Regions from separate parts of the Homo sapiens genome. Here regions 1, 2 and 4 are each linked to region 3. Evidence: promoter capture Hi-C in 16 types of primary human blood cells and fetal thymus (Javierre and others, 2016). All regions are on one chromosome and are shown on one strand. Each heading gives the region's core, a stretch centred on a gene start or on the middle of the fragment in contact. The rest is flanking DNA. Distances are from core to core; before and after follow the strand shown.

Region 1 (5,189 bases), core at 572-3,071, 550 kb after region 3:
TGCAAAGAGAAGCTGCAGCAAGTTATCCAGAAGACCTAGCCAAGATCAATGATGAAGGTGGCTACATAAACAACAAATTCTCAAAGTAAATAAGACAGCCTTCTGTTGGAAGAAGATGCCATCGAGGACTTTCATAACTAGAGACATTCATAGTCAATGCCCGGCTTCAAAGCCTCAAAGGACAGGCTGACTCTCTTGTTAGGAGCTGATGCAGCTGGTGATTTTAAGTTGAAGTCAATGCTCATTTACCATTCTGAAAATTCTGGAGCCTTTAAGAGTAACGCTATATCTACTCTACCTGTGCTCTATAAATGAAACAACAAAGCCTGGATGACAGTATATCTGTTTACAGAATGGTTTACTGAATATTTTAAGGCCACTGTTGAGACCTACTGCTCAGAAAAAAACTGTTCTTTTCAAAATATCACTGCCCATTGACAATGCACCTAATCACCCAAGAGCTCTGATGGAGACATGCAAGGAGTTAATGTTGTTTTCATGCCCACTAATACAACATCCATTCTGCAGCCCATGGATCAAGGAGCAATTTCAACTTTCAAGTCTTATTATTTAGGAAATACATTTTGTAAGGCTCTAGCTGTCGTAGATAGTGATTCCTCTGATGGATCTGGGCTAAGTAAATTGAAAACCTTCCTGAAAGGATTCACCATTCTAGATGCCATTAAGAACATTTGTAATTAATGGGAAGAGGTCAAAATAGCAACATTAACAGAAGTTTGGAAGAAATTGATTCCAACCCTCCTGAATGATTTTGAAGGGTTCAAGACTTCAATGGAGGAACTCACTGCAGATGTGGTGGGAATAGCAAGAGAAGTAGAATTAAAAGGGGAGCCTGAAGAGGTGACTGAGTTGCTGCAATCTCATGACTAAACATGACTGGCAGCCAGGCGCAGTGGCTCAAGCCTGTAATCCCAGAACTTTGGGAGGCCGAGGTGAGCGGATCATCAGAGGTCAGTAGTTCAAGACCAGCCTAGCCAACATGGTGAAACCCCTTCTCTACAAAAATACAAAAATTAGCAGGGCATGGTGACATGTGCCGGTAGTCCCAGCTACTCAGGAGGCTGAGACAGGAGATCACTTGAACCCAGGAGGCAGAGGTTGCAGTGAACTGAAATTGTGCCACTGCCCTCCAGCCTGGGCAACAAAGCGAGACTCCATCTCAAAACAAAACAAACAAAAAAAAACCTTGAATGGATGAGGTGTTGCTTCTTATGAATGAGCAAAGAAAACAGTTTCTTCTTTCTTTTTTATTTTCTTTTTTGAGACAGAGTCTTGCTCTGTTGCCCAGGCTGGAGTGCAGTGATGTAATCATGAATCACTGCAGCCTCAAGCTCCTCAAGTAATCCTCCCACCTCAGCCTCCAAAATAGCTAGAACAAGTGAATGCTACCATGCCTGGTTCTTTTTCTTTCTTTTTTTTTTTTATATATAGGCAGGGTCTCACTATGTCGCCCAGGCTGGTCTCAAAGTCCTGGCCTCAAGTGATCCTTCCACCTAGGCCTGGGATGATTCCAGGCTGGGATTACAGACATGAGCCACCACATCCTGCCTGTTTCCTTAGATGGAATATACTCCTGGTAAAGACGCTGTAAACATTGTTGAAACGACAACAAAAAAATTAGAATATGACATAAACTTGGTTGATAAAGCAGCAGCAGGGTTTGAGAGAATTGACTCCAATTTTGAAAGAAGTTCTACCTTGGGTAAAATGCTACCAAACAGCATTGCATGCTACAAGGCAATATATTATGAAAGGACAGTCCATTGATGTGGCAAAATTCATTGTTTTCTTGTTTTAAGAAATTGCCACAGCCACCCCAGCCTTCAGGAACCACCACCCTGATCAGTCAGCAGCCACCAACACCAAGGCAGAACCCTCCACCAGGAAAAAGATGATGACTCACTGAACGCTCAGATGATTGTTAGCATTTTTTTGCAATAAAGATTTTTTTAATTTAAAGTATGTACATTGTATTTTTGACATAATGCTATTGAACACTTAATAGGCCACAGTATAATATAAACATAACTTTTATATGCACTGGAAAACCAGTGGATTTTTATAACTCACTTTATTGCAATATTTGCTTTATTGCGGGGTCTGAAAGTGAACCCACAATATTTCCAAGGTGTGTCTGCACCTGTTGTGGGTTGAACTGTGTCCTCCAAAAAGATATATTGAAGTTCTAACCCTTGGTACCTATCACTGTGACCTTATTTGGAAACAGGTCTTTGCAGATGTGATCAGTTAAGACGAGGTCACGCTAGAGTAGCGTGGACCCTAATCCAATGGCCAGTGTCCTTATAAGAAGAAGAGAAGACACAGAGAGACACATACACACTCAAAGAAGAAGCCCATATGCAGACAGAGGCAGAGATTGCAGTGATGCTTTCACAAACCATGAAACACCTGGGGCTACCAGAAGCCAGATGGATAAGGAAGCATGCTCCCCTAGAGGTTGCAGAAGGAGCGTGGCCCTACCAACACCTTGATTTTGACCTTCTGGCCTCCAGAACCATGAAAGAATACATTTCTGTTGTTTTGAGTCACCCAGTTTATGCACCTTGTGGTGGTGGCCACAGGAATCCAGTAACACCCCCTTCTAAGAGGGCAGCCAGGCAGACGAGGAGAACTATGCAGTTAGAGGCTGTGGGGTGGACAGCAGGGGACAGGTCATCAGGGCACTGTGCAGGTCCAGGTCCATGATGCTCGGAAGAACACACACCTGCATCCAGCAGAAGAGCCAGTGTTGCATATCAGCCACCCAGAGCCCAAGGGTCCATGTAAGCAAAAATGGCCACGCCAGTGGGGCCACTTTTCCTCCAAGCCCCCTCCCCTCCATCCTGGCCCCAGGAGCATCAGCAGGTGTGGGAGAGGAAGAGAGGAGGGGACGGCCAGACCTGCCCCTCCCCAGGGTAGGAGCCTTGGACCTGGGGTCCAGCAGAGCTGGGAGGAGAGGCAAAACTGAACTGGATGTCAGATGTTGGTTGAACTTGACAGACCTGTTTCACACACAAACACAATCAAAAAACTATGGTGGGATCTGCGCCAGCCTGATTAAGGTGGGGAAGGAAGATCCAGCAAGACACACGGGTTGGGAATCAGGGACTGCTGGGAGACTTAGCACGGAGACACTGGACTTCAGGGAACTGGAAGCTGGGAGGATGGGTGAACTAAGAGATAAACAGGGTGGGTACTCCAGAGACAGCAATGCCCAGAGAGGCAGGGGCAGAGGGAGGGCGTGGAGTTCCCAGACCCTGCAGCCGGGTCACCAGTGGAAGCTGGGAGCCCTGGGGGCCTGTCTGTCGCAGCTGGAGAGAAAGGGAGAGAAGGTCCAGCCCCCTCTGTCTCATGCTCAGGCCTCCCATGGGTGGAACCTGGAAGTGTGGGAGATACCACTTGCAGGGGTCTGTCCCCACAAGACATGGCAGAGGAGGGAGAGGACAAGTGTAGAGTCTCAGGACAACAGATCCAGGACCAGCACCGCATGTAGAAAGGCAGTGAAAGGAAAGGGGGAGACCTCCACTTCGGCCCTGCCCCCTCCCTATCTAGCTCCGACTGGTCGGCAAACTGGTTCCCAGCCATGCAGCCCCAGGAAATGGCATTGATGGTGCTTGGACCCAAAGTCATGTCTGTGGGGTTCATCTCCTGGAGGAGGATCCCTGGCCACACCCCTTGGGGTGGACAGATCCCTCTCCCTGGAAATTCCCCTTTGGGGTAGGCAGATCCCTCCATCTAGCAATTTGCAGTTCACAGACCCCAGAATGCAGGGCCAGAGACAGGGACACTCCCAGAGTTACCCGGGACATCCCTGTATGTGTTTGGTTGTGGATCAGAGGAGGGAGAGGCTTGTTCAACACACAGCCACCTGCCCCTCACCAGAGACAGAGACCCTGGGGCTGGGGAGGAATCCAGTCCATTCGCTCCAGACACCCACCCCAGGCTCAGGAACAGTGCAGAAGAGAGACAGGGGCTGGCTCCGAGTGAGAGAGACACCCGCCATTCCCAAACCCTCTTTGCGGAGGACCACGAAGAACCCACCAAGCAGTGTAAGGAAAGAAGAAAACAAACAAGGACTTATGACCCGGGCCCACCTCTCACTCCAGCCCCAAGTCACTTCCCCTTCATGTAAAGCAGGTGTTATTTTGTTTGCGGCTCTTCAGCTGCCAGGTGGGGATGCAAATGAGAAAAGCTGAGACTCAGTTGTTTCACAGAAAGAAGAGGAAACCAGAAGATGTCGGGACACCAGAGCCTGTTGCTTTTCGAGGCCTTTTAGGATAGGGTAGCAATTGAAGGTGGCCTCAGAAAAGGATGATTGGGAAAGGGGGAGGTAACTGAGGTCCCCTCACCTAGCCTGGGGGCCCCTTCTCTTCACCAACACCTACAAACCCTTGGCCTCAAAACCCAGGCAGTGTTCCGGCCACCTCATGTAGCAAGGGGAGCCTGGAGACAGAGGACGGGCCCCGGGTCACACACAGAGTGGCCAGATTGGGTGGAGACCTGCGTGTCCTGGCACCAGGAGTCTCTCCACGAGCCTCTGCAATTTCTCAAACTTCAGTGAGATGAAGACTCATTTTTGCAACTTGGTCTCTATTTGCTGCACTGTTGGCCATTTCAAGCTTGTACCCGCAGTCAGCAAAAGGAAGTGTTAATAAGCTCGCCCACATAAACCCACTTTGCCCACTGCTCAAACCACCGCAAACCAATTTTTCCAGGCTGCTGCCAGGTTAGGCTCCCTTGGTGTTAATTTCCTGCTCAGTAAAGCAGTGAGTCATCTCCCTCCCTTCTCTCCAGCTCTCACTATTGCTCTGAGACCAGAGTCTGCAGCAGAGGGGTCACATGGAATCCTTTAGTACAGAAGTTCACGACCTGGACGAGGAGACGCAGGGACCGCCAACTGGCTCCTTGGAAACTGCCCGCAGTTGATTCCGAAAACACACCTGAGCCGAGAAGCTCCATGCAATCTGGAATTCCTGGAGTTCTTGTCAGCGTCCACTGCCATGCAGGACTCTGGGGCACTTGGCTTGTCATTGGCTAAAAGATGGGCTGGGTTCGAGGTGCAGATAGCTGCATTTTAGCCGCTGGTGCTGTCTCGCTTGGAGGAATGCTGTCTGCCACGCGACCACCAGGTGGCGCACAACACCTCGCGGCGACTGGACCGGGCACGG
Region 2 (5,720 bases), core at 1,979-4,478, 530 kb after region 3:
TGCTTATTTCTCAGCATCCATTTCTATGTTTTCTTTGCTGCCCTTCTCTATCCCAGCAGTGTCAACCCTGGCTGTGCACCAGAGTCACCTAGAGAGGCTTCTTAAGGATCCCAGTGTTGTGCTGCTTCGTGCCACACCAGTCATATCAGAATATCCAAGGGTGGTCCTGAATACTGTGTTTTTGGGAAGCTCTAAAGATCATTCTGAGAGAGGAGCCAGGTTTGAAAACACCACTTTTTTTTTTTTTTTTTTTTTTTTGGTTTTTTTTTAGACAGAGTCTCACTCTCATTGCCCAGGCTGGAGTGCAATGATGCGATCTTGGCTCACTGCAACCTCCGCCTGCCGGGTTCAAGCGATTCTCCTACCTCAGTCTCCCGAATAGCTGGGATTACAGGCACTTGCTATCATGCCTGGCTATACTCTTAACGTGTACAAAAAAACTTGTTTCTTGTCCCTTCTCTGAGCCCAGAGCAATAGTTTAGGATGTCAATAGCTGAGTTTGATGGTGACATTTAACAGTAGTGTTGTAACAGGTGTTTAAGCTCTAAGACCAATCATAGAGCTTGTGCACTTGAGCTCAGAAAAGTTACAGACAGTAAGGGACATCCTAAAGATCCAGGAAAGGCTGGAATTTGTCCCCTCTCTCTGTGTCACTGTGAATGACCTGTGTTCTATTGACTTGCTGCTGCCCACGCAGGATCTGGACTAGGTTTTCTAGTTGGGTTTCAAAGTATTTGCCCCAAGGCCAGGTGCAGTGGCTCATGCCTGTAATCCCAGAACTTCAGGAGGCTCAGGCATGCAGATAGCTTGAGCCCAGGAGTTTGAGACCAGCCTAGGCAACATGACAAGACCCAGTCTCTACAAAAAATACAAAAATTAGCTGCGTTGGTGGTGCATGCATGTAGTCCCAGCTACTTGGGAGGCTGAGGTGGGAGGATTGCTTGAGCCCGGGAGGCAGAGGTTACAGTGAGCCGTGATTGTACTACTGCACTCCAGCCTGAGCAACAGAGTGAGACCTTGTATCAAAAAAAGGTCTTTGCCCCAGCCATGATCCTAACCCAGCATCCCAATATCACCACAGCCTTCACTGAGCCCCTGCTGAGATGGAAACTTGTCCCCAAGAAAGGAAGTATGGAAATAAGTAGGAGGTAGGGGGGAACTGAGAGCACAGCCTGAATATTCTGAGTTCCCTGTAGCTGCTGGCCTGGCTGTACATTGAGAGGCAATACAGATACAGGTGATGGTTTAAAGGATAGCTCAGGAATCACTCAGATCTCTGTCTCCCTCTTCACATGGCTGGCTTGCCTGGGTGTCTCTGTGTCTTTGCATTTCTCCTTTTATAAGGACACTAGTCATTGGGTTTAGGGCCCACCCTACTCCAGTAGGACCTCATTTTAACTCAATTACATCTGCAAGACTCTAATTCCAAATAAGGTTACGTTCATGGGAACTGGGGATTAGGACTCAAATATATCTTTTGAGGGGGTCACAATTTAGCTCACAATACAAATCTTTTCTATATCTCTACATTTCAGGGAAAGAAATGGACACAGAATTCTAGACAGTCTCACCAGGACTGAGAACAGCCATTTCCCAAGTCACTGGACTCATGGGAAATATGATGGACACTTCCTTAACCTCTATTATATTTCCCTCCTAATGTATCTTCCTGTTCTGCAGCAACTAGAAAGTTAAACTCTCCATTTCCCAGATTGTTTTATATCTAAAGCTCTGTATAGAATTAGTTTCTACCAATCAGGAGCATTTGAGCAAGATCTGGAAGATGAAAGGGATACTGAAACTGCCTTTCTGCCCTTGATGCTGCTGTGTTTGCAGGCGAGGTCAAGGAGTGGCAACAGCATTCCAGTCCCCAGCTTCCCAGGCCTAGAAAGGCAGGGACTGGCAGAATGATCATGCACTTGTGTGTGCTGCAGGGCCCATTCTCCTAGGAACCTGGCCTCCCAACTTGGCCTCCCAACACTTTAGGAAGCTGAAGCAGGAAGATCGCTTAGCCCAGGAGTTTGAGATCAACCTGATCAAAATAAAGAGAACTTGTCGCTTCAAAAAAAAAAATAAAAAGGTTTTTTTTAATTAGCCAGGCATGGTTGTGCACACCTATAGTCTCAACTGCTTGGGAGGCTGAGGCAGAGAATGGCTTGAGCCCAGAAGTTCAAGGCTGCAGTGGAGCCATGATCACACCACTGCACTGCAGCCTGGGTGACAGAGTGAGACCCTGTCTCAGAATAAATACATTAATTAAATAAAACCTCACATATAGAGTTGACTTTTGATGAGATTACCAAAACAATTCAATAGCAAAATAGACTTTCAACAAACAGTGCTGGGACAACTGGATATACACATGTAAAAGAATGAAACCGGAACCCTAGTATTTATCATATATAAAAATTATCTCAAAATGAATCAAAGACCTAAATGTAACAGCTAAAACTCTTAGAATAAAATGTAAGCATAAATCTTCACGACCTTGCCAATTTTAGGCAATGATTTCTGAGATATAACATCAAATGCCCAAGCAACAAAAGAAAAAAATGATAAAATAAACTTCATCAAAATGTAGAAACCTTTGTGCTTCAAAGGATATCATTAAGAAAATGAAAAGACAACCCACAGAATGGGAGAAAATACTTGCAAATCATATATCTGATATGGGTAACCCAATTTAAAAATGGGCAAAGGATCTGAACAGACATTTCTCCAAGGAAGATACATAGTAACCAATATCACATGAAAAGTTGCTCAACATCATTAGTCATAAGGGAAATGCAAATCAAAACCACAATGGGATACCACTTCATCCCCACCAGGATGGCTGTAATCAGAAAGACAGATAACAACAAGTGTTGGTGAGGATGTGGTGAAATTATAAACTTCATACATTGCTGGTGGGAATATAAAATAGTGCAGCTACTTTGGAAAACAGTCTGGCAGTTCTTCAAAAGGTTAGACAGACTACTATAGAATACAGAAATTTCACCCCAGGTATGTGTCCAAGAAATATGAAAATGTGTCCATACAAAAAGTTGTACATGAATGTTTATAGCAGCATTATTTATAATAGTCAAAAAGTTGAAACAAAACAAATATCCAATAACTGATGATTAAATAAACAAAATGTCATATATCCATACAATGGAATATCATTCTGCAATAAGGAAAAATGAAATATTGATACATGCTACAACATGGATGTACCTTGAAAACATTAGCTAAATGAAAGAAGACAAATGCAAAAGACCATGTAGTATATGATTCTACTTATTTGAAGTGTTCATAATATACAAATCCATAGAGGCAGAAAGTAGATTAGTGGTTGCCATGGTCTGGGAGGATTGGGGAGAATTGGATATAGAGTTTCTTTTAGAGGTAATGAAAACATTCTAAAATTGGTTGTGACAATAGATTTAATAAATCTATAAATTGTATAGTATGTGAATTGTATATCAATAAAGCTGTGATATTTTAAAAAGGATATGTTTCAGTATTTGCTGTTAAGTGATAAAGGCAAGTCACAGAATAATAAACATTGTAGAATTCTATTTATATAAACAAAAAACACACTTCCATATGTGTTTTAATGTTTTATGAACATTTACTCATATATTGTTTTTGTAATCTTTAAAAAATTTAATTACAAAAATGTAGCCATCCTAATATATAACAAAATAGAATTCATAGCCAGGAAATATCAAAAGAGATAGAGATATGTTATATCTATAGATGAAAAGAAACTCAAGAAGCATATCAGCTAATTCTAAGGTATGAATCTCATTAGGATCCTAATTTAAGTAAAGAGAATAGAAATATTTATAAGACAATTGGAAAATTAGAACACTGGATATTTGATGGTATTAAGAAATTATTGTTAATTCTTTAGGTTTGATAGGGTATTATGATTATGCTTAAAAAGAATTCCTTATCTTTTATAGATAGATGCTAGTGTATTTACTTTTTAAATGATATTATGTTTGCCATTACCTCAAAATAATCCAGTAGAAGGGGTGTGGAAGAGTTTGTGTAGTATGGATAAAATAAGAGTAGCCATGAGTAGTTGAAGCTGGATGATGGATTTGAGAGGGTTCATTATATCCTTCTCTCTACTTCTGTATCAGCTTGAAAGAGGTATAGTATATCTTGATGAAAGAAACAATAGACAAAGAAGATACAACATGCATAACATATATGCATCTAACAACATAATCTCAAGCAAGAAGAAGAAAACCAACAACATTGCTGATTTTAGTACATAAATCTCAGAACTGATAGATCAAGTAGACAAAAAAAGCAAAGACATAGATTATCTAAATAAGACATTTAATAAACTCATATTTGTATATAACCCTCCACAAACCAAAGAATGCATGTGTATATTGTGTACATATAACATTCACATAAACTGACCAAATAATGATTTTAAAAGAAGTCTCAAATTCTAAAGAATTGAAAGCATACAGACCATGTTCTGAGACCATAATGTAATGAAATATATGAATAAATAAATAAAAAAACCGTGCTCTTTGATAGTATGGCTTAACATTGTAAAGATATCCATCCTCCTCAAATGTTTTTTATAATTCCAATCCCAATCAAAATCCCAACCAGAATTTTTTAGGGGTTAATGAATTTATTCTAAAACATATGAAAAATGGGTTCACAAATGGTGAAATCATTTTTCAGAAAGAAGGACAAAGAAGTGAGACTGGTCCCATCAAATATTAAGTTACACTATAAAGCCATGGAAATTTTTTTAATCATGGTATTGGCTCAAGAGTAGACCAACAGACCAACAGAACCAAAAAGAGCTCAGAGACTCATGAATATAAGGGAATTACGAAGAAACAGGAAAAAACTGACTGTTTAGTAGGTTATAGTGGGGAAAAGCTCCCATAATATGGAGAAAAATAAAACTGCATCCTTACCTGATATAATATACAATGAACTTCAGCAAGAGTAAGAATCTATACATAAACAGTGAAACTAAAAATGTAGGAAAATATTTGTGACCTAAAGGTGGAAATTTTCTTAAACAAGACCTAAAAATCATAAACCACAAGGTAAAAAAATATGTAGATTTGATTTCATTAATATTACAGGTTTCTATTCAACAAAGGAATCCATAGTCAAAGTTGAGAGGGAGAAGATACTTTCAACATCTCAAACTGACAAAGAATTCATAATTAGAATATATAGGAAACTTCTGCAAATCTGTAAGTAAAAGTCAGAAACCCATTCTATAAATGGCAAAGTATAGAAGCAAGTAATTCATAGAAAAAACAAATTAATAACAAATATATCAAGAGATTATCAAAATTAGAAAATTATCTAGTGCCAAATATAAGCAGGGCTTTCAGAAACACAAACATGGGTCTAAGGTGGGTTTTGTGCCTTTGGAAATGTGGACTGATGAAGCCTCTCTGTAACATAGCCTGCATGTACTTGGTGAAATTGAACATACATACATCCTATGACTCAGAAAGCCCACTACAAATTATACCTAATTGAAAGAAATTCTCCCCCAGGACTATGAAGGGATGAGAACAAGGATGTTCGTCATAGCATTTGTCATGGCAGTGGGAGTTGGAGGCAAATTCAGTATCCATCCTTGGAGGAATGGATGAGTCAAATGGACTGAATGTACACCATGAAGTACCAAGAAACATGCTGTACTTGTTGGGTTCTCAAGGAAGCAGACACTGAGA
Region 3 (5,522 bases), core at 512-3,011:
CTTCCTGTCTGCCAGGCCCCAGCTCCCACCAGCCACTCTCACAACCTTGGGCTCAGGCTGAGCCACTCCACCTCTAAGGAGGCTCTTCGCAGTGGGGTCTCTAACCTCAGGGCTTCTTAATGGACCTCCCAATTCATGCATGCACACCCAGGCATGTGCCCCACACCCCAAACCCCAAGTCCATGCACTCACACCCAGCATGCGCCCATTGCTCTCACACCCCTTCACTCACCCCATTGGGCCTGACTTTGCACTCGGGTTTCTTCCAGTCCCTCTTCCGGCAGCTTGTCTGCTGCAGCTTAAATTCCAGCCTCACAAATATTCCAGCTGGGAAGGGCTGCGGACAGACAGGCAGGCAGAGGATGGCCGGTAGCCAGCTGAGGGTGCAGAGCAAGCCCTGGTGTGATCCGCACCTCCCTCACGCAGTCACATTCCAGCAGGCTGGACAGTGGCCTTTTCTCCAAAGGGCTGGGGCTCAGAGCCCAAGCACTTCTGTCCCCCTTCGTGGGAATGCGCTGGTCTCCTGGGGTACGACCCTCCCCGCTCCTGCCCGGGCCATGCTACTCACCGTGTCCACGGCGCTCTCCACACTGGTCTCCTGGAAGGCCCACTGCACGGGCGGGTGCTTGTGAAATTCCTCCAGGGCCACCTGCAGGCCCCGGCGCTGGGCTTCCGTGAGCTCGGCGACGCCCACGCCCACCGCACCCAGCCACAGGGCCAGAGGGATCAGCAGCCGTCGCATGCTTCCGTGTCACCCTGGCCCTGCGAAGCGGGTGTGCGCCCCTCAGCTCTCCGAGCCAGCCCGAGCCGCCTCCTCCCGCGCCCTGCTCTGGGGGGAGGGTGGGGAGCGGGGGCGGGGTCCAGGCCTGTAGAACGCTGGGCACAGGTGAAGGAGCCTGGAAATGGCCCTTTCTCCAAATTGACCTTAGGGTCCGCCTGGCCCTCTCCGTTCCCTCCCACCCTGCCCGCGCTGTTCCCTGGGGCCTGCAGTTTTAGCAAAGTTCCCTGCCCACGCTAGGAATCAGTCAGTTCGCACTCCCACCCTACACCCCTAATCTTGCCCATTGTGTCTCTCCCTGGGTCTCCGGCACGACCCACTCTCCTCCCTGCCGTCCCCGGAGCCCCTCTCTCCTTTCCCCGCTCAGCCTTCTCCCCAACCGCTACTCCCTCCCCGTCCAGAATCCCCCTGCTCCCACGGGGTTCCCCCCACGTCCCCGAGGTCCAGGCCAGCCGGGGGAAGGGGCAGGGGCCGGAGGCCGAATACTTTTGGGAGGACCTAAACACGTGGGAGGGTCCGGACGGGTGGGAGCGGCGGGAGGCCTAATCCTCCCGGCGCGGGGGCTGCCGCGGGCCACCAGCCAGCCCCAGTCGCTAGGAATGGGGGTCTCGCGCCGCCCAGCCCTTGGCTTTCCCGCTTCAGGCAAAATCTTCCCTCCTTCCTCTTTTTTCTGGGGCCTTCCCCACGACCCCTCTTCCTAGCCCTTCTGATCCGTCCCCTGATGCATGACTGGGGCCACCGGAGGGGCTGACCCTCCCGGAGAGCCCCGTCGGTCCTGGTGGTCTTGGGACCGGAGAGCGACAGATGTGGAAACCGAGGCCCCTCAGTGAAGAGCTGCCAGGGTGGTCGCCTTAGAGCAAAGGCGTTCCTCATTCCGCCTGCGCAGCTGCCCCTCCGCCCGGCTGCCGCCCCAGCCCGCTTCCCCTCCTCACGTCCTTCCCTGCGCCTGGAGGTCTCCCCTGACCGTCCCGCAGCTGAAATCTTGGCCTCGCTGTCCGCCTCTTCCCGCTCTTCTTCTCGCGGGGCGGCCCCCACCTCCTCCCACCCCCACCTCCTGGACCCCCTCCAGCAACTCTGGCTCCTCCCCTCCCCAGTGGGACCGGCCTCTGGGGCGGGATGCCCTCCCGCGCCCTCCCTCCCCATCCCACCCCCCTCCTTCCCCTCGATCCAGCCCTCATGACCCTGACCCTGGCCGCGGCTGCAGGCGGCTCGCCCAGGCGCGCAGCCCTCGGTCCCACCTCCCTCTGGCTCGGGCCTGAGCATTCCGCAGCCTCGGCCGGCCCGGGCCTCTTCTCCGCTGCTCTGCTCCCCCAAGGACTTTCTGTGCCCCACTCCTACCCAGGCAGGGCTGCCCTGTCTTGGGTCCTTTACGGGGGACCATTCCCCAGCGTCCCTGAGACACTCATCCTGGGATTTCTTCCCCTAAATACAGACATTCTCAAACCAAATGAGACCTCGAGGTCCCTACACCTGATCCTGCCTCCCACTCCCTGAGCCACACTGAGAAGGAAGGTCTCTCCTTTAGGGAGGACTCTGGCGCCTGCAACCTTGATCGACAGCAAAGATGTCCAGTGTGTATCCTGCATCTGCCTTTCCTGACCATTCCTCGTGCCCCATTCTCCGTGGGATAGATTCTCATGGGGAGTGGGGGAGCCTTCGGGTGTGGCAGAACGGCATGATGGAATTCATAAGGTGAGCAGAAACTCAAGGAAAACTGTCCAAATACCGGCTCGACTCCTGGGTACGCTGGAGCAAGGATGAAGAAGCTCTGAGACTTTGCACGTCAGTAACCACCAACACCATGCCTCTGGTTCCCACACCGCAGGGATCACCTGAAGTAGAGGATCTCATGTAACTTCATGGCTCTCTCTGAACTTCTGTTTCTTTATCTGTAAGATGGGGATCAGAAACTCTGTCTTAAGGAGTTGTTTTGAGGATTAAATGAAGAAACATGAAAAGCAACTGATGTCCAGTGCCGAGCACAAGGCTTTTGTCCCCTACTTACGCACCCCTAACCAGGATTCTCCACTTAGAGCTGAGAATTTCCTTTACAGTGTGCTCTGGGGGCACCAGAAAGAAACTCGGCTTCCATTAACCACTTCCAGGTGTCTGAAATCCCACCACTACTTAGGGTACTTCACTCCCCAGCTGTGAGCTACTCAGCCGCCCTTAAGCAGAAAGAGATGGGATCCGTGTTCCCTGAAAGCTTTAGATGGGGTTAGAGAGAAAAGATGCACCCAAAGATGTTTCCCAGCCCAAGAACTTGAAGGAAACCAAAATATTTCACCCCAAAAAATACTTCTTTGACACATTTCAAGGTGGCTGTTCAGAATGGTTGGAAATAGAATAACCAAAAAGCTGTCTTTTTGTGGAGAGATTTGCATCTGTAGAGGAAATCTGCATTGATGTAGCCAGGCTTTCTCCGAGGCTCTCCCTTGTCTAACTCTAGGAAAGATTAACTGAGAGGCTGACACCTTTACAGATCTGAAAGAAACATTTACCCTCAGTTCTTTCTGAGGGCTGCTACCTGTGAGGTGTCATCTACCTAACAAGACTCCCTTTGCCAACCAGGCCTCCTCTTCCCTCCCTTCCATAACCTGTCTTGCCACTATCTGAGCCCCCATATTTGTATAAACTCAAGATGGTGGATAAGCTTCTGTATCCCACTGAGGGGTTGGGGTAATCACTTTGTGGTTCTCTCTCATGTATGTTAATAAATATTTCCTGTTAAAGCCGAGGCAGGAGGATTGCTTGAGCCCAGGAGTTCAAAGGTGCAGTGAGCTCTGATCATGAAACTGTACTTCAGCCTCTCTGGACAGAGCAAGACCTTGTCTCTAAAATATAAATGAATCAATTTATTCTATTAATCTGCCTTTCATCAGTTGATTTTTCAGCAAACCTTCAGAAGGCAAAGGGGAAGTTTTCCTTTGGCCCCCACAGACCCATGCTGGGGGACGTCCTGAGGATGGGTGAGGAGAGAAATCTTCCAGGACAAGGTAGGACTTGAGCTGAGCAAAGCGGGAAACTCATCCTGACTTTGGTGGGGGCTGGGGGGAAAGTTGCATCAGGTCTGTTGCAGGGGAGGTGAGGCAGTTGAGGTGGGGAGGTAGGTTGGGAGCAGGGTGGTGGGAGTTGGTGAGGAAGGAGCCAGTCTGGCTATACTTAAATGGCCACACAAAATTCACTTTGGGTGTAGGTATGTGAGGTGCACCCCAAAGAGGTGGACAGTCCTACTGCAGAGCACTCATAGGTGTGGATGTGTGAAAGGACTACTTAGGGCATATTCATGAGCTCAGCTCCAGGTAACATGTCCCAGTCCAGGGGAGCAACAACAGGACTTCACTATTTAATGATGGTTAATGATCTTCCTGGTCATGACAGCTAAAAAAGTAGACTCACGTATCCAGTTGTTCCAAGCTTAGTTTTCCAATAACTGAACTGAGTACCAAAAAACATTGTCCTTTAATATTTGCAACCACATTGACAAAAATAGTTTTTTTTAGAAGAAGTGATTTGACTTTGAAGTAAGAGCATATCAGTTGCAAAACTACACCTATTGAAGTTAAGTACATTTTCCAACTTGTGTCAATTCGGTACCATTAGCATAAATTCAAAAATGATATTGCATAAATTCAAAAGCCATTCTAAATTTATCAATATCAACTAAGAATTCTTCACATTTTTCTTGAAATTTTGCCAATTTACACAATGCTGTATATTACAATTAAAACCTCTGTATGTTGATTCTTGTGACAAAAGTATGTAGATTGTAATTATTTGTCAGTATTATGAAAATATTTAATTTGAAATGCTTATATTTATCTGGCTAGGTCACAAATGAGGTTTCATCTCCTTGGATATTCAAATTTAGCCCATTTATATGTAGTGTGGTATTGGTGAGAAAACACTGACTTTTTTATTTTTAATTATTGAATATTTGGGTTGAGAGTAGTGACTCATGCCTGTAATCCTAGCACTTTGGGAGTCCAAGGTGGGTGGATCACTGAACCCAGGAGTTCAAGACCAGCCTGGGCAATATAGAGAGAGGCTATCTTTACAAAAAAAAAAAAGTTTAATTAGCTGAGTGTGGTGGCAAAAGTCTGTAGTCCTGGCTACTCAGGAGGCTGGCGGGGGACGATCACTTGAGCCTGGGAAGTCAAGGTTGCAGTGAGCTATGATCATGCCACTACATGACCCTCCCACCTCAGCCTCCCAAAGTGTTGGGATTATAGGCTCAAGCCACCACTCTCAGACTTGGCCACAGAGCAAAACCTTGTCCCCAAAACAAATAATAATAATACTTATTGTTGTATATTTGGTAATCATGGCTTCTGTCTCAAGAAAATCTTGGAGTTAGTTAAAAGTACAGTAAATCTTAGGAGAACTCTTCTACAACCCTGACAATGAGCTTTGGTAAAGAAAAGATCATTAAATTCATTATCTTTCATTGCTTTCAACAGTTCCATAAAACCAGCAGTGATTCATAGCATTTCCACTTAAATACGGAATTAGTTTTAATGGCTGTAGCCATGAGACTTGCATAGAATAAATTTCAGAAAACTGAGCACAAATATCTTCAATATGTACCCTAAAGTGAAATGAAGCAACATTGGAAGCATCAATCTCTTGTTTTAGCATTCCAATAAATACCTCAGTCACACCAGCCACATGGCAAGTGTTCCTAAACCTGTGGCTGGTGGCTACCATATTGGATATTGCAGGCAGAGCATGTGTTACCAATTAT
Region 4 (5,473 bases), core at 553-3,052, 580 kb after region 3:
CCAGAATAGCAAAACCAAAACCCTTCCTGAAAACGTTTCCTGTTGTAGATCTATGGAGAATATCTACAACAAATCTGGGTGACAAGGTGTCCCCACAAACTCACAAACCCAAATTATGAATGTGTCCGGGCAAACTGCTGATAGCTTCAAGAGCAGCGTGATGTAAACAGTTGTGTAGGAAAGAGGAAGAGCAGGAAAAACAGCTGGGCCTCTGCTGGGCCCGGGGATCATAACAGCACAGCCCGTCTGGTGCGTGTCCAGGGACTCCCTGCAGGCCTGTCGGAGCGCAGCTGCCAGCACCGGGCAAGGGGTGTGTAGGTGCCGAGTCAGAGGTGAGAACAAGGGGACCTCAGTAAGATGGAACTGTGCTGGAGTGACCTGGACCCTGGGAATTCAGCACACTGACACACCACAGCTGCCTTCTGAGTCCAAATCTTGCACTGGGGAAAAACTGCTGAGAAAAGAATGTGAATTGATTGGGTTGGGGTCAATGGGGACAAAGAGAAGACAAGGCCCAGTTTAAAGTGAGGAGGAGATCAAAGGAGAGAGAGTGCTCAGAATGTGGGGTTCGTATCTTCTAACCCCGAGTGAAAGAACAGAAATCAGACTCTAGAGTCATAAAGTCCAAAAAAAGTTATCCTAGCCCAACCTTCTTCCCTAAAAGTACAGAAAATTCATTTTACTTAAGCATGAGCAGTGGGAAATAATTTCACATAAATATCATTCTAAGTTAATTTGAGAAAAAAGCGATGAGGAGCCAAATACTATCCTGCAGACAATGAAGGCTCACCAACCAGAATGACTTGGCCAAAGCACAAACCAACACTGGCCCTTCATAGTTCAAAATGAACAAAAATACACAAAGTGATGGATGCTATGAAGACCAGCATGAGTCAGAAGTAGAAAAGATCCAAAATAAGGAAATAAAACAATAGTATGAAAAGACAGAAGAGACTCAGATGTGAAATAAAAATTATTTTAGAAATGAAGTCTAAGTTAGAAGAACTGTCGGTGCAAATAGACACAGTGGATAATGTCTTAAATGAAATAAAGGATGAAAAAAGAAAAAAGTTTTAGTTAAAAGGTATGAACAAGGCAATGAAAAGAATACAAGAGAAAGTAACAGGAGGTGGACTAAGAAGATGAAGTATTCATATAATAAAAATCCCCAAGAAGAAAACAAAAGCCACAGAACAGAATAATATGGAAAACTAAATTTAGAATTTTCCTGAAATAAAGATACTTAAAACTGCATACTGTAATGGATATGGAAGCATATTGTACAATAGGAAAGTCGTCACAGGATCACCAACAGGGACATATGCTTGTGGGACTACACACTTTGAAAAGAAAAAAATCTTTGGATGTCCAGTTTAACAGACCAAGTTACTTATGGAAGGAAGTGGAGGAAAGATTAGGTTGCATTTAGATTTTTCAATGGCCATGCTTTATGCCAGAAGACAGTGAAGTAAAATATTTTAAGTACTCAAGGAAAGACAATGTGAGCCAAGACAACCTTTAAGTGGAAAGGCTATTGACAGATCTTAGTTATGTCTGCAAATGTTGGAGAACTCAGGGAGTGTCACTCTCATGCACTTTTACTGAAGAATCCACTAAAGAACAAGCTTCAAACAACACAAATGACTGGAAAGCCGTTCATACAAGGACTGGCTGTAAGTTCAGTGCCAAGATGAAACGATAATTATAAGGGCGGTCATGTAGAAGGTGAGGGCTGTGTTCTGACACTGTAGATAGATTACAACAGTCAAAAATCCAGGAGGGAGCCCAGCATGGTGGTGGCACCTGTGTCCCCAGCTACTCGGGAGGCTGAGGCAGGAGGATCACATAAACCCAAGAATTCGAGGCCACAGTGAGTTCTGATCACACGACTGCACTCCAGCCTGGATGACAGAGAGAGACCGCATCCCTTGAGAAAAAGAAAACAGGGGAGAGAGTGGGGAAAGTAGATAAAAAGTAAAACAAGCTTGCTGGTTGCCTTATAGGTAGAAACAGAAATTCAAAGAGTATCGCTTCAGAATATATGCTGGAGCAGACAAGGGAGGGAGAAGATATTACTAACCAATTTTAATCTTGCTTGAAGTAGGGAACTAATACAAAATAACCACAACTAGGAAGCTAAAAGTGTCATATAAAGGTATTAGAATAAAGGTATTTATTAGAACAAAAATTCAAACCTTCTAAATACCAAAAGAAAGCTAAAAAAATTGATCACATTGATATATCGATATAGACATAGATATGTGCATACAATGATATGTATAATAAAACAATGTGACAACTGGGGTCAAACACATAGATCAGATCAATCAATATAATGGGGCTTAACTCAGCTGTTAGAAGAAAAAGGTATCCATATTGGCAAAAAAGGAAAAATCCAATATTATACTATATATCAGAGGCAATACTAATACAAAGAGATTGCAAAAGTTTAAAAATAAAAGCTTATCAAAATGTTCAGTATAATTGAAAGATACAACAGGCAAATAAAAATTAAAAGAAATTATGAGTCACCATCTTGATATCCAACAAGGCAGGATTCAGACCAGAGAGCATTAAATGAGACACAGAAGGAGGCTACAGAATCCCAAAGTCTGCAATCATGATGGAGATCTAACAGTAGGTGCCACTTATATGGCAGTGGCTTAGCAACAACTGTCATGAAGCAGAAAATATAAGAGATGACAGGAGAAATATACAGAAACATGTTGTTTTAAAAAAAAATAAGAATATTTAACACACCTGTCTCAATCCAAGACAAATCAACTAGATAAATAGATAAATAGATGATAGAGATAGATAGATGATAGATAGATAGATAGATAGATAGATAGATAGATAGATAGATAGATAGATAGAAGAGAGAGATGAGAGAGATAGATGGATGATTGATTGATAGATACAAAGAAAATTGATAGATGATGGATGATTGATAGATATAAGATAGATAGATAGATACATAGATACATAGATAACAGAGATAGAAAGGTGATTGATAGATGATAGGTAGATAATTGATAGATGATAGATACATAGATAGATTAGATAGATGATAGATAGATAGATAGTATGTAGAAAACAAAATCATTAAAGTAGATATTATAGGTAAATTAAGCAATGAGGGTGGATGCCGTGATGTGTCACCCAGATTGTCTTTCTGAAATAAATGTCATAATCCCTACCTATGATGGAAAGTGCCACCAGAGGATGGCCCTCTGCTGTCCGCCCTCCCATGGATTTGCCTTGGCAGGAAAAAAACTGCCTCACCAAAGGTCACACCTCCTTCCGGAGCAGCCCACACTCAGTGATGGATTAACACGGGGATAGAACAGCCAGGCCCATCATTCCTACGCAGCCTCTCTGAAGGGCCCTGCCAGCCCTAGAGGTCACTGTGGGCTCAGCTGGGCTCTCTGTTGAGGTTGAGTCACAGGCGGACTTGTCCCTCTACCCAGTCCTCCCTCTTCTCCCTCCTTCCAGTCTCTGTCTCAGAGTCTGCTCCCAGGGAATTCAACCTGTGATGGAAATATATAAATTAAAAAGACACAGATACCATTTCTCATCTATCAAATTGGGCAAAGATCCAAAAGTGTGACAGCATAGTCTGTTGGCGAGGTTAAAGAAAGAAGTATTCCCACGTTGCTGGTGGGAACTTTAGCAATATCTTACAAAATTACATATGCATTGACCTTTGACCCAGCAAATCTTGGAATTCCTCCCAAAGATATAGTAGCAAAAATATGAAAGGATGTATGCACAAGACTATGTATTGTAGCAGAATTTTGTAATAACAACAAAGGACTGGAAACAAATGGCAACCACCAGGGGACCGTTTGAGTCAGCTATATCCAAATGATGACATACTACACAGCTGTGAGGGAATGAGGCGTGTCTCTTCTTACTGATGTGGACTCCTCTCCAGATACTAAGTGGATCAAGCAAGGAAGAAAAAAGTACGTATGGACATTTCATTCATCTAAAAAACACAAGTAGGGAAACTAGAGGCATACATACATACACTTGCTTATTTTAAAAAATGTTGAAAGGACAAACACAAATACCTTAACAGTTATCTATGGGAGAGGAGGGGAGTAGACAGGCATAGAAATGAGACTTCTTTGAATATACTTTGCTTTGTAGATTCAACTTTAGAATTAAACTTAAAATGCAAGTCCTAAAAATGAAAAGGGAAATTACACAAATGAACCATAATTACGGAACATAACCATGCAAGAAGGAATTATTCCAACCGACTTAAACACAGTAATTTCACTATACGTCCCTAGTGGGATATATTAAGGACAAAAAGAACTTCAAAAATATCACAAAGAGATTTCCAGTCACCATAGTGTTAGTTGTGGTGGTTGGTATTACTGCTCTGAGACTATTGCATGTGTGTTTGTTGTGAGATAAAGCCAATGAGTAATGATGTTGGTGCCATGAAGAGTCAGGATTTTCAGTGTGGGGAAAAGGGGATAAAGATGTAAGATCCATGAGGTTAAATTAAAACTCTGCAGTTCTGAATTAGAATTAGTGACAACAGCATGAACACATTATATAATGTCTTAAAAGGAATGCTTATTTCCTAGCTATAGCCATTGAAAGGACCCAGACCATCTAGTAGTAGTAATGAGAACTCCTAGCTATAAATACATTTCCTATTAAAAAGAACCGAGACTCATCGGAGAAATGGCTGTTTCCAAGATCAGGACAGGAAAGGTACAAAATGATTTGGTCTGGAACATCTTGTAATATCATAAAACAAGGAAGCTATCAAGTTTGTATGCTAAGTACTCTTAACACACACAAGGGCCCACAAGGAAACTCTGGGAGGTTTTGGATCTTTCACCCTGATTGTGGACATGCTATCACAGGCATTTGCATATGTCCAAACTCATTAGATTATATACGTTAAATATGTGCAATCCTTTGATTGTCAATGACGGCTCAATAAAGCTGTGTTTGGGGGGAAAAAAAAACCTACCAGGGTCATGTCAAAATAACTCAGGAACCAACCTGAATATAAGTTCCCACTGGCCAAAGATGGAAACATGTGAGATCAATAAGGATAATAACTGGGAAGTGTTGAAATACATTGTTTTTTTTTTCCAGCCTATGAGTTTACAGTACCACTAGAGGAATATCATTCTTCACTTTGGGGAGATGTCAGAGAACCATATTTTGAAAGGTAGCAAATAAAGGGAATGAACTGCATGTTTATATTGCCTTTACGATATGAACTTTACCTCTGGGTAACCAAAGAGTTGCTGAGAGTTCATTTCTCACTATAAGAGAATTCCAGCTAATAAATGAAAAAGGAAGACAGAATTAGAACATCACTATTTTGCAACCTGTAATGAATTCATAGGTTTAAGCAACCGTCGTTTATAGCTGCTAAAATCACAAGAAGAGAGGCAGCCAGCTATTTCTGTGTCTCCTGTTGGAATAATACATCACT

The links. Contacts are between HindIII fragments. The CHiCAGO score rates a contact against its expected background, and 5 or more counts as called.
Region 1: a fragment that was not itself captured here is called in contact with the fragment with the promoter of RARRES2 in region 3 in 2 of 17 cell types (total CD4 T cells and activated CD4 T cells); the score reaches 6.1 in total CD4 T cells.
Region 2: a fragment that was not itself captured here is called in contact with the fragment with the promoter of RARRES2 in region 3 in 2 of 17 cell types (total CD4 T cells and non-activated CD4 T cells); the score reaches 5.6 in total CD4 T cells.
Region 4: a fragment that was not itself captured here is called in contact with the fragment with the promoter of RARRES2 in region 3 in 1 of 17 cell types (total CD4 T cells); the score reaches 5.2 in total CD4 T cells.

Annotation. Positions count from the first base shown.
Region 1 is chr7:150,893,509-150,898,697 of GRCh38, forward strand. No RefSeq gene overlaps it. Among named protein-coding and RNA genes, the nearest start is that of AOC1, 44 kb to the left of the region's middle. RefSeq lists an enhancer at 5,013-5,189 and a silencer at 5,013-5,173. The HindIII fragment of the contact is 5,633 bases long and covers 1-4,638 here.
Region 2 is chr7:150,868,976-150,874,695 of GRCh38, forward strand. The region is part of intron 1 of LOC105375567 (a long non-coding RNA gene); the gene reads right to left. Among named protein-coding and RNA genes, the nearest start is that of AOC1, 19 kb to the left of the region's middle. The HindIII fragment of the contact is 8,356 bases long and covers 1-5,720 here.
Region 3 is chr7:150,339,868-150,345,389 of GRCh38, forward strand. It overlaps RARRES2 (retinoic acid receptor responder 2), which reads right to left and starts at 1,762. Exons shown (of 6, transcript NM_002889.4): 1 at 1,711-1,762; 2 at 569-762; 3 at 233-337. The coding sequence starts at 742. It overlaps LOC107986858 (a long non-coding RNA gene), which reads left to right and starts at 1,978. Exons shown (of 3, transcript XR_001745420.3): 1 at 1,978-2,470; 2 at 3,661-3,774. RefSeq lists a silencer at 801-870. The HindIII fragment of the contact is 3,952 bases long and covers 1-2,982 here.
Region 4 is chr7:150,924,396-150,929,868 of GRCh38, forward strand. No RefSeq gene overlaps it. Among named protein-coding and RNA genes, the nearest start is that of KCNH2, 51 kb to the right of the region's middle. The HindIII fragment of the contact is 359 bases long and covers 1,624-1,982 here.